Regions from separate parts of the Homo sapiens genome. Here all the other regions are linked to region 1. Evidence: promoter capture Hi-C in 16 types of primary human blood cells and fetal thymus (Javierre and others, 2016). All regions are on one chromosome and are shown on one strand. The core of a region is centred on a gene start or on the middle of the fragment in contact, and the rest is flanking DNA. Distances in the headings are between cores, read along the strand shown. Region 1 holds the start of OPTC (opticin). Region 2 overlaps ZBED6 (zinc finger BED-type containing 6). Region 3 overlaps ZBED6 (zinc finger BED-type containing 6).

Evidence for each region. The method cuts DNA at HindIII sites, captures the fragments that hold promoters and counts their contacts. A CHiCAGO score of 5 or more calls a contact.
Region 2: a contact is called between a fragment that was not itself captured here and the fragment with the promoter of OPTC in region 1, in 1 of 17 cell types (endothelial precursors). The highest score is 6.0, in endothelial precursors.
Region 3: a contact is called between a fragment that was not itself captured here and the fragment with the promoter of OPTC in region 1, in 3 of 17 cell types (M1 macrophages, endothelial precursors and M0 macrophages). The highest score is 6.5, in M1 macrophages.

What each region holds. Positions count from the first base shown.
Region 1 is chr1:203,492,405-203,496,506 of GRCh38, reverse strand. OPTC (opticin) reads right to left here and starts at 2,354. Exons shown (of 8, transcript NM_014359.4): 1 at 2,290-2,354; 2 at 271-542. The coding sequence starts at 501. RefSeq lists a silencer at 2,633-2,861. The HindIII fragment of the contact is 16,129 bases long and covers 1-4,102 here.
Region 2 is chr1:203,833,954-203,838,055 of GRCh38, reverse strand. It overlaps ZBED6 (zinc finger BED-type containing 6), which reads right to left. Exons shown (of 17, transcript NM_001395895.1): 10 at 1-90. It overlaps ZC3H11A (zinc finger CCCH-type containing 11A), which reads right to left. Exons shown (of 18, transcript NM_001376342.1): 11 at 1-90. It also overlaps the pseudogene RPL35AP5. Among named protein-coding and RNA genes, the nearest start is that of SNRPE, 26 kb to the left of the region's middle. The HindIII fragment of the contact is 934 bases long and covers 1,700-2,633 here.
Region 3 is chr1:203,795,878-203,798,842 of GRCh38, reverse strand. ZBED6 (zinc finger BED-type containing 6) reads right to left here. Exons shown (of 17, transcript NM_001395895.1): 1 at 1-2,965. The coding sequence starts at 1,320. All of the region lies in intron 1 of ZC3H11A (zinc finger CCCH-type containing 11A), which reads right to left. Among named protein-coding and RNA genes, the nearest start is that of ZC3H11A, 1.7 kb to the right of the region's middle. The HindIII fragment of the contact is 1,434 bases long and covers 682-2,115 here.

The DNA.
Region 1 (4,102 bases), core at 1,105-3,604:
GATGAGGACATTGCGAACCCCTCCCCCAGTGAGACATAGCTTTGGCAGGGGGAGGCAAGTATGAGTTTTGAAGAAGGAGAAGTCCCAGGTTTGTGTCCTGTTTCTTAGTATCATCTAAGTGACAAGTCCCTATGGAGGGATAAGAATTTCCACCTCACAGAGAAAGAGGTGGAGGCTGGAGACACCCGCACTTTGGGGCAGATGGGAGGGCCCTGGCCTCTGACTCCCAGTGTCATGCAGGGAATGTAGTTGGTCTGCTGTGTCCCTCACCTCGGGGAGTTGGTCCCCATAATCTGTGAGCTCCTCATAGTTGCTCAGGTCAATGACTTCACCATAGTTGTCTGGGTTCAGGACATCATTCCGCAGAGGCAGAACTTCAAAGGAATCGCCTTCCCTGGGCATCTGCTCCTCTCTCCTCTTCCTCTCCTTCCTTGGGAGAGAAGCTGTCCCTGTCTCCTGCAGCACCAAGGCCAGCAGACTCAGGAAAGCCAGGAGCCTCATGGGGAGTCAGATGGGACTGAGAATCCCTTCAGCGGCTGGTCCTGGCAAGTGGGCACGAGGAAGGGCAGCGATCTGAGGGACAGGCTCTCCAGAGTGTTGTGGGAATGGCTCGCAGATTTACTCCACTTCCCACCCCCACACTTGCAGACTCAGTGCTCTCATCACATGCACAAATTCCCTACCAGCTGGGACTATGTCTTGGGGGGTATCTCCTAGCAGCCCCCTCCCTCCACCGCCCCACTTGAGTGTTTTTACACGCTCACCCAAACACTGATATTCACTCACAGAGGCATGTGCAGACACATCTCAACACAGACACATTCACAAGAGTCCCCTTGTTTACAAACGAGGCACACACTGGTGCATGCACACAGATGTCCTCTCTTAAACAACCCCATGCTCAGAACATGACTGCTAGTCACTAAGCTCGATTTAGAGAATGTCAACATCAAATAATCTTATGGGGTCTTTTTGTTTGTTTGTTTTTTTGAGACGAAGTTTCATTCTTGTTTCCCGGGCTGGAGTGCAGTGGTGCGATCTTGGCTCACTGCAACCTCCGCCTTCTGGGTTCAAGCGAATCTCCTGCCTCAGCCTCCTGAGTAGCTGGGATTACAGGCACCCACCATGCCTGGCTAATTTTTGTATTTTTAGTAGAGAAGGGGTTTCACCATATTGGCCAGGCTGGTGTCGAACTCCTGACCTTAGGTGATCCACCCACCCTGGCTTCCCAAAGTGCTGGAATTACAGGTGTGAGCCACCGCGCCCAGTTGACTCTTGTGGTTTTTTATAAAGATCATCCATTCATGCATTTGCTCAACAAACATTTATGGGTGTCTATTGAGTTCCAGGCACAGGACTTGTCTCTGTGGGTACAGAATGAATGAGGCACAGCCCTTCCTAGGAGCACCTAGTCTCTTTAGGAGACATGGACTTACAATGAAACATACAATGTAAAAAAGAATGTTAGTTTATGAAATATACTTCTAAATGCAGCTTTTTAGAAACAGATTATTACAGATAAAAGAGTTCTTTGTGTGTGATTGCATGAGTGTGTACGCATCTGGAAATTTCCTTAGATACCTGTGTATATTTGTGTGTGTGTGCACACAGATGCCTGCGTATGTATGTGATATGCATGTGAGTACAAATGTTCATGTAGTTCGTATATGTATAGACGGGTCAGGAAATGCATGTGGTGTGGTTTTGTATCCAGGCATAAGTGTATACAACAGTCATACCCAGTGTAGGCTTAACACAGCCCTCCCCAAAGCTAGCTGCACAAGTTTCTAGTAGACTCTCCCTCTTTCTTTCTTTTAAAATTTTTTTTATCTTTTAATTTTTATTTTATTTTCTATTTTTAAGACGGTGTCACTCTGTTGCCCAGCCTGGAGTGTTATGGCATGATCTCAGCTCACTGAAGCCTTAACCTCCTGGGCTCAGGCAGTCCTCCTGCCTCAGCCTCCCAAGTAGCTGGGACTACAGGCGTGTGTTACCATGCCCAGTTAACCTCCCCACCCTTTCTTAATTTTAGCTGGGCAAGGGGGCAAGCCTCTAGCAGTAGCAAGAGGTGTTTCTTCACCTTACCTCCCATACCTCACCCCAAACGAATTACATAATCTCAAAAAAAATTTTTCTAAGAGAGTTTAGTGCCCACCCAAAAGTCTTGTCCAACTTCTTTGGCCAGAGGCCTAAACTCTCTTCATTTTCCCTTCCCAATCCCCTGCCCCAGCCAAACACTTTGCCCTCATTTGCGCACCGATGGCCAGAGGCCTCAACCTTGAGCCTTACCCCTTCAATGCTTCTGGATCCTGGATGGAGAGCCCTGCAGCTTCCAGAAAGGTGGGGACTCTGGTGGAGGCTGTCTGAACTGGGGCTTGGGTTAGACAGTGGTGCCCGGGGGAGGGCAAGGAGTTGGCCAGGCCTGCGACCAATCAGACTTCTCATTCCTTCTGATGTCCAGCTGTTTCCCCTCCTCTTTCCTCAGGGGGTCCCCTGCCCCATTCCTGTATTTGACAAAAGAGAATTCTCCCCCCACCTTCCGCTTCACCCCCCACCTCCAGCTCCTGCTCTCTCTCCTCTTACTCTGTCAGCTCCTTCTTTCTTTTCCTTGTCCACTCTCCTGATAAGGCCACATCTTTGAGGAACAGGGAGTGCCATCCCCTGCAAGGAAGGGGCCCCATCCCTCAGATTCTGAGTCCTCAGAGAAGGCTGGAGTCGGGGGATATGGAGAGATAGAGCTTGTCTTTGCAGCTTCTTTCTCCAGCCAGAGAGTGACAAGGCTTCAGCTTCATAGCCAGAATCCAAAGATAAAAATAGGTGGAAATGAGGCACTTCACCCTCACCTAGAGCGCCAGCACAGAGACCATAATTGAATAAAATCACCAGAGACAGGAGCTGCAGGCCTAGGTAGTTCAAAGAGAAGGTGTATGGGGGATGAGATCGGATTTGAAAGCCAACTTCAAGTTCACAGATGATGATCATGAGGATACGGGAAATTCTCTAAATCTGCTAGGAGGAAACCAAATGGAAATTGGGAGGTGGGCCCTAGAAAGGATCATAAACACCAGTAGACATTGTGTAGGGTCTCGGGGGCCTGGGAAGTATCCTCTCCCGCACCCTCAGAGATGTACAGTCGTCCCTCAGTAACCATGGGGGATTGGTTCTGCACGTCCAGTGGATACCAAATCCACATATGCTGAGGTCTTTTATATAAAATGGTGAATTTGCACATAACCTACGCACATCCTCCTGTGTACTTCAAATCATCTCTAGATTACCTATAACACCAAACACAATGCTTACACCTCACTCCATTCACATGGATTCCACATAGTACTGGCACACAGCAAATTCAAGTTTTCCTTTTTGGAACGTTGTGAATTTTTTTTTTTTCTGAATATTTTCAATCTGTGGTTGGTTGAATCCACGGATGTGGAACCCACAGATACAGAGGGCCAACGGCATTCATCTGGAAACACTCCCCTTTCCTTGGTGCCTCGAGCAGGCTGCCGAGCAAGTCCTTGCTGAAGGCAGAGGTGGGGTGGCTAAGGAGTCTTCCCCAGCTTCTGCCAGCCTGTGCCCTGGCGCCCACCCAGGTTTCTCAGTGACTCTCCTTGTTCCCTACTCCTTTCCACCAACCAGATACTGAATTCCAGCTGTGAGGCCCCCTAAAGATCTAGTCCAAGTCCTTGTGGTATAGATGAGGAGAGTGAGGCCCAAAGAGGTGACGTGACTTGCCCTAGGTCACACAGAGCCAGGGCCAATGCCTAGATTTTTTGACTCCCTGGTCAGAGAGTTTTCTTTAGTTCATATGACCCTCCCCATTTCCACCTTCTTCCCCAGGAGTCCTGAATCCGTGTGTTTCCAGGCCCTCAGAGCAGATGGCTTGGCAGAACTCATCTCTGCCCTGGCACACCAGGTGAAGAGGCAGATCTAATAGCCTGGCCCTCGAGGGCAGCATTTGGCTTGCTGTGTTCCTGGGCTCCAGCTGGTGCAAGAGGGGGCTTCCCTCAGCCCAAGAGCCTGGTCACCAGAGAAGAGCATGTTCTTGTACCCCTGGCAGCCCCCCACCTGGGAAAAGACACCATCAGAGGCTCTGCTG
Region 2 (4,102 bases), core at 917-3,416, 340 kb before region 1:
GTGTTTTGTCAATGTTAGTTTCTGGAGCTTCAACTTTCTTCCCTAGCCTCTGTGCCAGGCTACGCTTTAATGGAGGATCACTGTCACCGCCTATAAAGAGGGAGAACTTAGTTTAAGATTTCAAGTCAATCTTCAGCAAGGACAAGAAATACAAACAAAAACAGACAACATAGCATAATTCTGTTAAGTGTTCTGCATACATATGGCGTGTTTGTTCACCAGCTTCCTTAGAGTTCAATGTTAGAAACATAAAAATGTCGGAGAAAAGAGGTAAGGAAGGCAAGGTGCAGTGGCTCAGGCCTGTAATCTCAGCACTTTGGGAGGTCAAGGCAGGAGGATCACTTAAGGCCAGGAGTTCGAGACCAGCCTGGGCAACACAGCAAGACCTTGTCTCTAAAACAATTAAAATAAAAAATAGTCAGGCATGGTGGCACACACCTGTGGTCCCAGCTACTTAGGAGGCTGAAGCAGAAGGATCACTTGAGCCCAGGAGGTAGAAAGGCTACAGTGAGCTATGATCATAATACTGAGCTATGATCATAATACTACACTCCTGCCTGGGCGATACAGCAAGGCCCCATTCTCAAGAAAAAAAAAAAAAGAGAGACAAGGGAAAGAACAAAAAATTAGAATACACAAACATTTACCAAATAAATTAACTGACAAACCTACAAATGAAAGGTCATAAACCCTGGTTGAGATTAAAGTTCAGAATTAGAAATGTGAAAAATCTTCATGTACAAAAGAACCCTTTTTTTTTTTTTTGAGACAGGATCTCACTCTGTCACCCAGGCTGGAGTGCAGTGGTGCAATCTCAGCTCACTGCAACCTCCACCTCCTAGGCTCAAGCGATCCTCCCACCTCAGCCTCCCAAGTAGCTGGACTATAGGCACATGCCATGCCTGGTTAATTTTTGTATTTTTAGTAGAGACAAGGGTTTGCCATGTTGCCCAGGCTGGTCTTGAACTCCTGAGCTCAGGTGATCTGCCCACTTCAGCCTCCAAATGCTAGGATTACAGCACTATGCCAGGCCCCCCCAAAAATCTTAACTGGTCAGCTGCTGAATTAAGTAAATGCATACAGGATGAGGAAGACAGGTTAAGAATTATTAAATTTTAAGTTTTTTAGTATGAAGACTTTAAGAGCCACATAACCCCTCTCTCTCCAATTCTAGAAAAGAAATCTAAGGTTCTGAAATATTCTGTATCTTACCCAAGTCATCAACTAGTTAGTGATACAGCCAAGACCTAAATCAAGTTTCCTAATTCTAGCTGCTTTCTGAGACGGAGTCTCATTCTTTCGCCCAGGCTGGAGTGCAGTGGGAAGATCTCAGCTCACTGCCACCTCCACCTCCCGGGTTCAAGCGATTCTCCTACCTCAGCCTCCCGAGTAGCTGGAATTACAGGCGCATGCCACCATGCCTGGCTGATTTTTGTATTTTTAGTAGACTTTTTTGTAGTAGAGATGTTTGTATTTTTAGTAGTTTCACCATGTTGATCAGGCCGGTCTCGAACTCCTGACCTTGTGATCCACCTGCCTCAGCCTCTCAAAGTGCTGGGATTACAGGCGTAAGCTACCGCGCCCAGCCTTCTAGTTTTATTACACTGTTCAATACAAGTTGTTTAAAAGTCACCAGTTTTTAAAAACGGTTTTTTAGATTACTTGACTGAAGTTACATTGTTTGCAAGGTATCAAAGCTTCAAAAGACCCTACACAGAGTATGATTGTTTCTCTCCCCTCATTTATAATTTAAATATAAAACCATCACAAAGTTTACAGGTATGCTGATGTTAAAACAGCTCATTTCTATATTTTAAGAACTTTTAATTATTATTTTTAGAGACAGGGTCTTGCTATGTTGCCCAGACTGGACTCAAACTCCTGGACTCAAGGGATCCTCTAACCTCAGCTGCCCACGCAGCTGGGATGACAGGCATGCACCACCATACCTGGCTTAGTATTATTTTTTTCTACCTAAAATTTCTAGATCAGCTTTATCCAAGCTGAAAGTCCTATTAATTTGGAACCCTGGTTTGGTTTGTACTCTAAATACATGCTGAGATATTAAAATACTGCTCTTAGCTCTCCCCACCATCTTGGATCCTGTGGAGGCCTCCTGGGAACAGGACTTCTTAAAGGAAGTATGTCTGGAAGGCTGTGGTCCAAGGGCATTTTTGCTGGCTATAAGTGGGGTCTCCGGAAAAAAAGGGAGCACATAGCTTTTCTTAAAATTGAAGGTGTTTATGCCCCAGATGAAACAAAATTCTATTTGGGCAAGAGATGTGCTTATGTATACAAAGCAAAGGACAACACAGTGACTCCTGGTGGCAAACCAAACAAAACCAGAGTCATCTGGGGAAAGGTAACTCAAGCCCATGGAAACAGTGGTGTGGTTCATGCCAAATTCCAAAGCAATCTTCCTGCTAATGCTATTGGACACAGAATCTGAGTGACGCTGTACACCACAAGGGTTTAAGCTAATGAAAAGTCAGTAAAAGTGGATTTGCGCTATTGTAAATAAATAAATAAACAAAAATAAAATACTGCTCTTAAAATCTAGAACTGTTATTGTTTCTTGATTTACAGCTAGAAGAGATTTCTAAAGACTGCCTCATTTCTGTCTCTTCTAAGCTTTTTTCGTAAATGACTGTATAACGTGTAATGTATTCATCTGACTATAACCTTAGGCAAGTTATTTAACCCTTCCTGAGTTTGAGCTCAGTGCAGAAAATATTTACTGATATCAAGTGCCAAGCATTGTGCATGGTTTACTCATGGTTGCCAAGGATTCGATGAGAATTTACATAATGTTCTTTGATATACAGCAAAGCCACAGCAAATATTAATTTCATTCATGGGCATTATCTCATCGCTGAAAGTTTTTTATTACTTAGAGCGTAAAGTGCATAACTGATTCAACAATACATTCCCATCTCTCACTGTCTGAAACTTTGAAATGTGACTAAGTTCAGAACGGTTCTGAAGATAGGGTAGTGAGAACTGCATCAAAGACAACACAAAATAGAGATAGATAAGGTTTCCTTTTTAGGACATTTAAAACAGTATGAAGAAAATTCTGAAGTCAGAAAAAATTTTCAAAATAATTTTTTGAAGGCCAGAGCAGTGGCTCATGCCTATAATCCCAGCACTTTGGGAGGCAGAGGCGGGTGGATCACCTGAGGGCAGGAGTTCGAGACCAGCCTGGCCAACATGGTGGAAACCCCATCTCTACTAAAAATACAAAAATTAGCCAGGGGTAGTGCCTGTAATCCCAGCTACTTGAGAGGCTGAGGCAGGAGAATCACTTGAACCCAGGAGGTGGAGGTTGCAGTGAGCTGAGATTGTGCCAGTGCACGCCAGCGTGGGCGACAGAGCAAGACTCTCGTTTCAAATGATAATAATAATTTTTTGGAGTCAGACACGTTAGGGTAGTTATACAACAATTTACTAATATGGTAAAGTACTCCCCCAAAAATAAAATAGCAGCCAAGCATGGTATCTCATGCCTGTAATTGCAGTACTTTGGGAGGCCAAGGCCGACAGATCACTTGAGCCCAGGAGTTGGAGACCAGCCTGGGCAACATGGTGAAACCCTATCACTATAAAAAATACAAAAATTAGCCAGGTATGGTGGTGTAGGCCTATGGTCCCAGTTACTTGAGAGGCTGGGGCAGGAGGATCACTTGAGTCCAGGAGGTGGAGGTTGCAGTGAGCTGAGATTGCACCACTGCACTCCAGCCTGGGTAACAAAACAAGACTCTTGTCTCTAAATAAATAAATAAATAAGCAAGCACCAATAGACTCAAGGACTCAAATTTTATATATACATACTTTCTTCTTTCTTCTTAGGGATTCCTGTATTCTAAGAGACACACATTATATTAACCAATCATTTTTCTCGCCTCTAAAAACTCACATTTAAATTTGTTCAGAGAAATAGAGGTGTTCTTTACCATTTTTAAAATCTAGTTCCTTCCAAAACGCTGGTCATGGTCATAATCTAGTTCAATTGTAACACTTTAAATCTCTGTATCTTCAATAAAAGGTATAATGCACTCATGAAAACATGAGGAATTTATAAGTGCTTTCAGCCAATACAGGG
Region 3 (2,965 bases), core at 149-2,648, 300 kb before region 1:
CACAATCTGCATGAACCTCTGAAAGGCTGGGGTTGAGAAATAGTTGTAAGGATGCATATCCTCCACAATCATTTGGATAATTGCCTGACTTATGTGACTTGAGACTGGATTTCCACAACATGTTGTTTCTCTCTCCTGCGCACGCATCAGAGTGCCTTGCTCTGCAACGGGAATAGGACTTTCAGATCTGTTTTCAACCTCTAACATAGGTTCATCTGAATCAGAGTCACTAAGGTCCTCAGCTGTTAAATCTTGGCTGCCTGTAGACTTTTCTCCATGCAAGGTATCACTCAAGAGATCACTTCTCTCAGTCTCAGCTTCATCTAATCCATTTGCAACAGCACCACTGTCTTTGTTGGCAACAGCCCAATGGATAGGATGTGTGGCTTGCAGGTGTCGTTGAAGTGTTGAAGTCCCTAAGTGGGACCCTGGCCTACCCCGGCTCACACTTCTTTTACATATATTACACACAGCTCTTGAGATGTGCTGAGGATCAGTGTAAAAAAAATTCCAAACGGCAGATGTCTTGGCTCTAGTTCCAGGAATTAAAGCATGCTTGACAATGTTACTTTTGATGAGAAATCTCCCTCTTTCTGCCCTTAGGGCATCAGATGCTGATTTATCATGCTTCTTGCCCATTCTATTATCATCTAATGGATCAGTAGGAATATATTCAAAGCTTCCATTGCTTCCAGAAGAGGGAGATAAAGACACATCCAAGGTAAAGTCCTCCTCTCCACTAGCAACTCCAAACTTGTTGGCCCTGGTCCAATGAGGTGAATGCCTTGCTTGCAGATGTCGTTGAAGAGTAGATGTACCAAGATGGCTACCTGGTTTACCCCTGCTGACGCTTTTCTCACAGAGGTTACAAATGGCCCGCCAGGTGTACTGGGGGTCAACATGAAAGAAGTGCCACACAATGGAGGTCTTGGCTCTAGTACTAGGTAGATAGATCTGTTTTTCTATATTGCTCTCAAAAAGACTTTCTTCATCCTGCTCAGGGTCATTGGAAGCTAACAAAGCAGGGGCATCTGCAACAGGCCTCCCAGATCCCAAATCCTTACTAAACTTTTTGGCAAGAATCAATTTTTTTCGACGCCTTTTCCCCTTAATTCGCAAACCCTTCTTTCTTTTCTTTTTAGCAGGCTGTTTTGCCTCTTTATTCACTCCTTCTGCTACCATCTTTTCCTCTACCACATCTTCTTCATCTGTATTAGAATTAATAGGAACACATCCCAGAATCCCAGAATCACTAAAAGTGTTGCATCTTCTGCCAGGAGAGAGTGAAGAAACTGGTACACTTAGAGTACATACACTCATTCTCTTTATGTCTCCACAATTCGTACCAGAATCTGTTAGTGGGTTTATTACTCAAGCAGAAATACAGCTGTTCCTCTCTACTTGCATTACCTTTTCTCCAGTTTCTATGGGGAATCAAATTCCCACTGGACCAATAACTTCCAAGCCAGGTTATTTTTGGAGGAAAACTGACAGCAATGGAGAACATTCCCGAACTCTTTCTTAGAGGGCTTTAAGGTCCCTTCCAATTTTCTAAGTTCTGAATTCAAATAGTCCAGTGTCCTCATGTTACAGAAGTAAGAACTGAGTCCCCCTTTCCCAGAGTCACAGAGTTGGTTAGTAGCAGCTAGAAGCCAGGTCTTCCAAATCCCAGATCCATGTTCTTCCTGCTTCATCAAGAACTATATCTACTTGAAATGCCTTCACCTTGTAAAATACATATTTTTATGATGCCTCATGATAGCGACATCAATTTCCCTTAATTCTGAAATTAACTATTTTCAGGAAATCTCATTTAAACAAAAACATAGTGCATCATTCAACATTCATCATTTAGGACTGTGATTTGCCAATACAACCCAAAAAGTCAATTCTGGAAAGCCAACACAGACTCCGCATACTGGTCACAGCAAATGCTAGTTGAGCCCTTTCAGTTCTAACTAAAAGTAATACAACCTTTTAAAATGTGAGTGGCTGGAAAAAAATGCTTTGAGAAAAAAATTTTAAAACAAGGTTAAATGCTGCATTTTCAAAGTACTGTTTGTATTAAGAGTTAATTCAAGTTTAGTTTTCAGATATTTTTAGACTTGAGAAGCTTTTACAGCCTGTAAGTAACTCACAAGTTGTACGCTATAGAGATAGCAAAAAGTGAAATATGAACTTTAAACCACTTCCATTTTTCGATTGATCCCTCCCCTTCCCCCAATACCTACATACATTTACCCTAAAAAGCATCGCTATCTCTAGTTCCACAGCCTCTTTCTCAAGGTCCAGAACCAAGGCCTGGAAGATGTCAACAATATAGGCCTTCCCCATAGGAATCCGCACCGATTATGGGAGTTTAGGGGTGTTCTTCATTACGGTTTCACCAGTCCTACAAGGAGAACGGAAGTGTCCCTGTTGCTCTTGACTCCGACGCTGAGGGCCAGGGGTGGGAGTGTAATGAGAGTGGGGAATGGGTGTAGGATACCGGAATAAGGTCGGTGGCTTTCTGTATGTGGAGTTTGAGACAAGCTCCAAAGTACCGGGACCCTGGAGAGGAATGAGAGTAGGTAAATTCAGCGCCCGGCACTCAGTCTGATTGATTTAGGCAGTGAGGGTCCGCTCAACTAGAGAAACTGTTGCCCCGAAGAAAGCAATCTAGTGTCAGTTCTCTCTTCGGGATTCGGGGGAACAGTCGGTTTTCGGGGCTGCTCCGGGCTCCTCGAGATTAGCGAACACCGGATGTGGGGGAGGGGAGGAAGGTTGGCTGGGAAAGGAGCAGGCGCCGTGGGGGTGGGGTGAACGGGGTGGGGGTGGGGAGGATGGGAAAAGTGAGCGGGAGCCTGGGGCTCCCAGCCAGCCCCGGCGAGGGCCGCGACCGGGAGGTGGGGGGGAGGGGTCGTTACGGCGAAGCTGAAGGATCCGCTCTGACTTCCCGGGATAGGCCGCGACCCAGGGGCGAGGG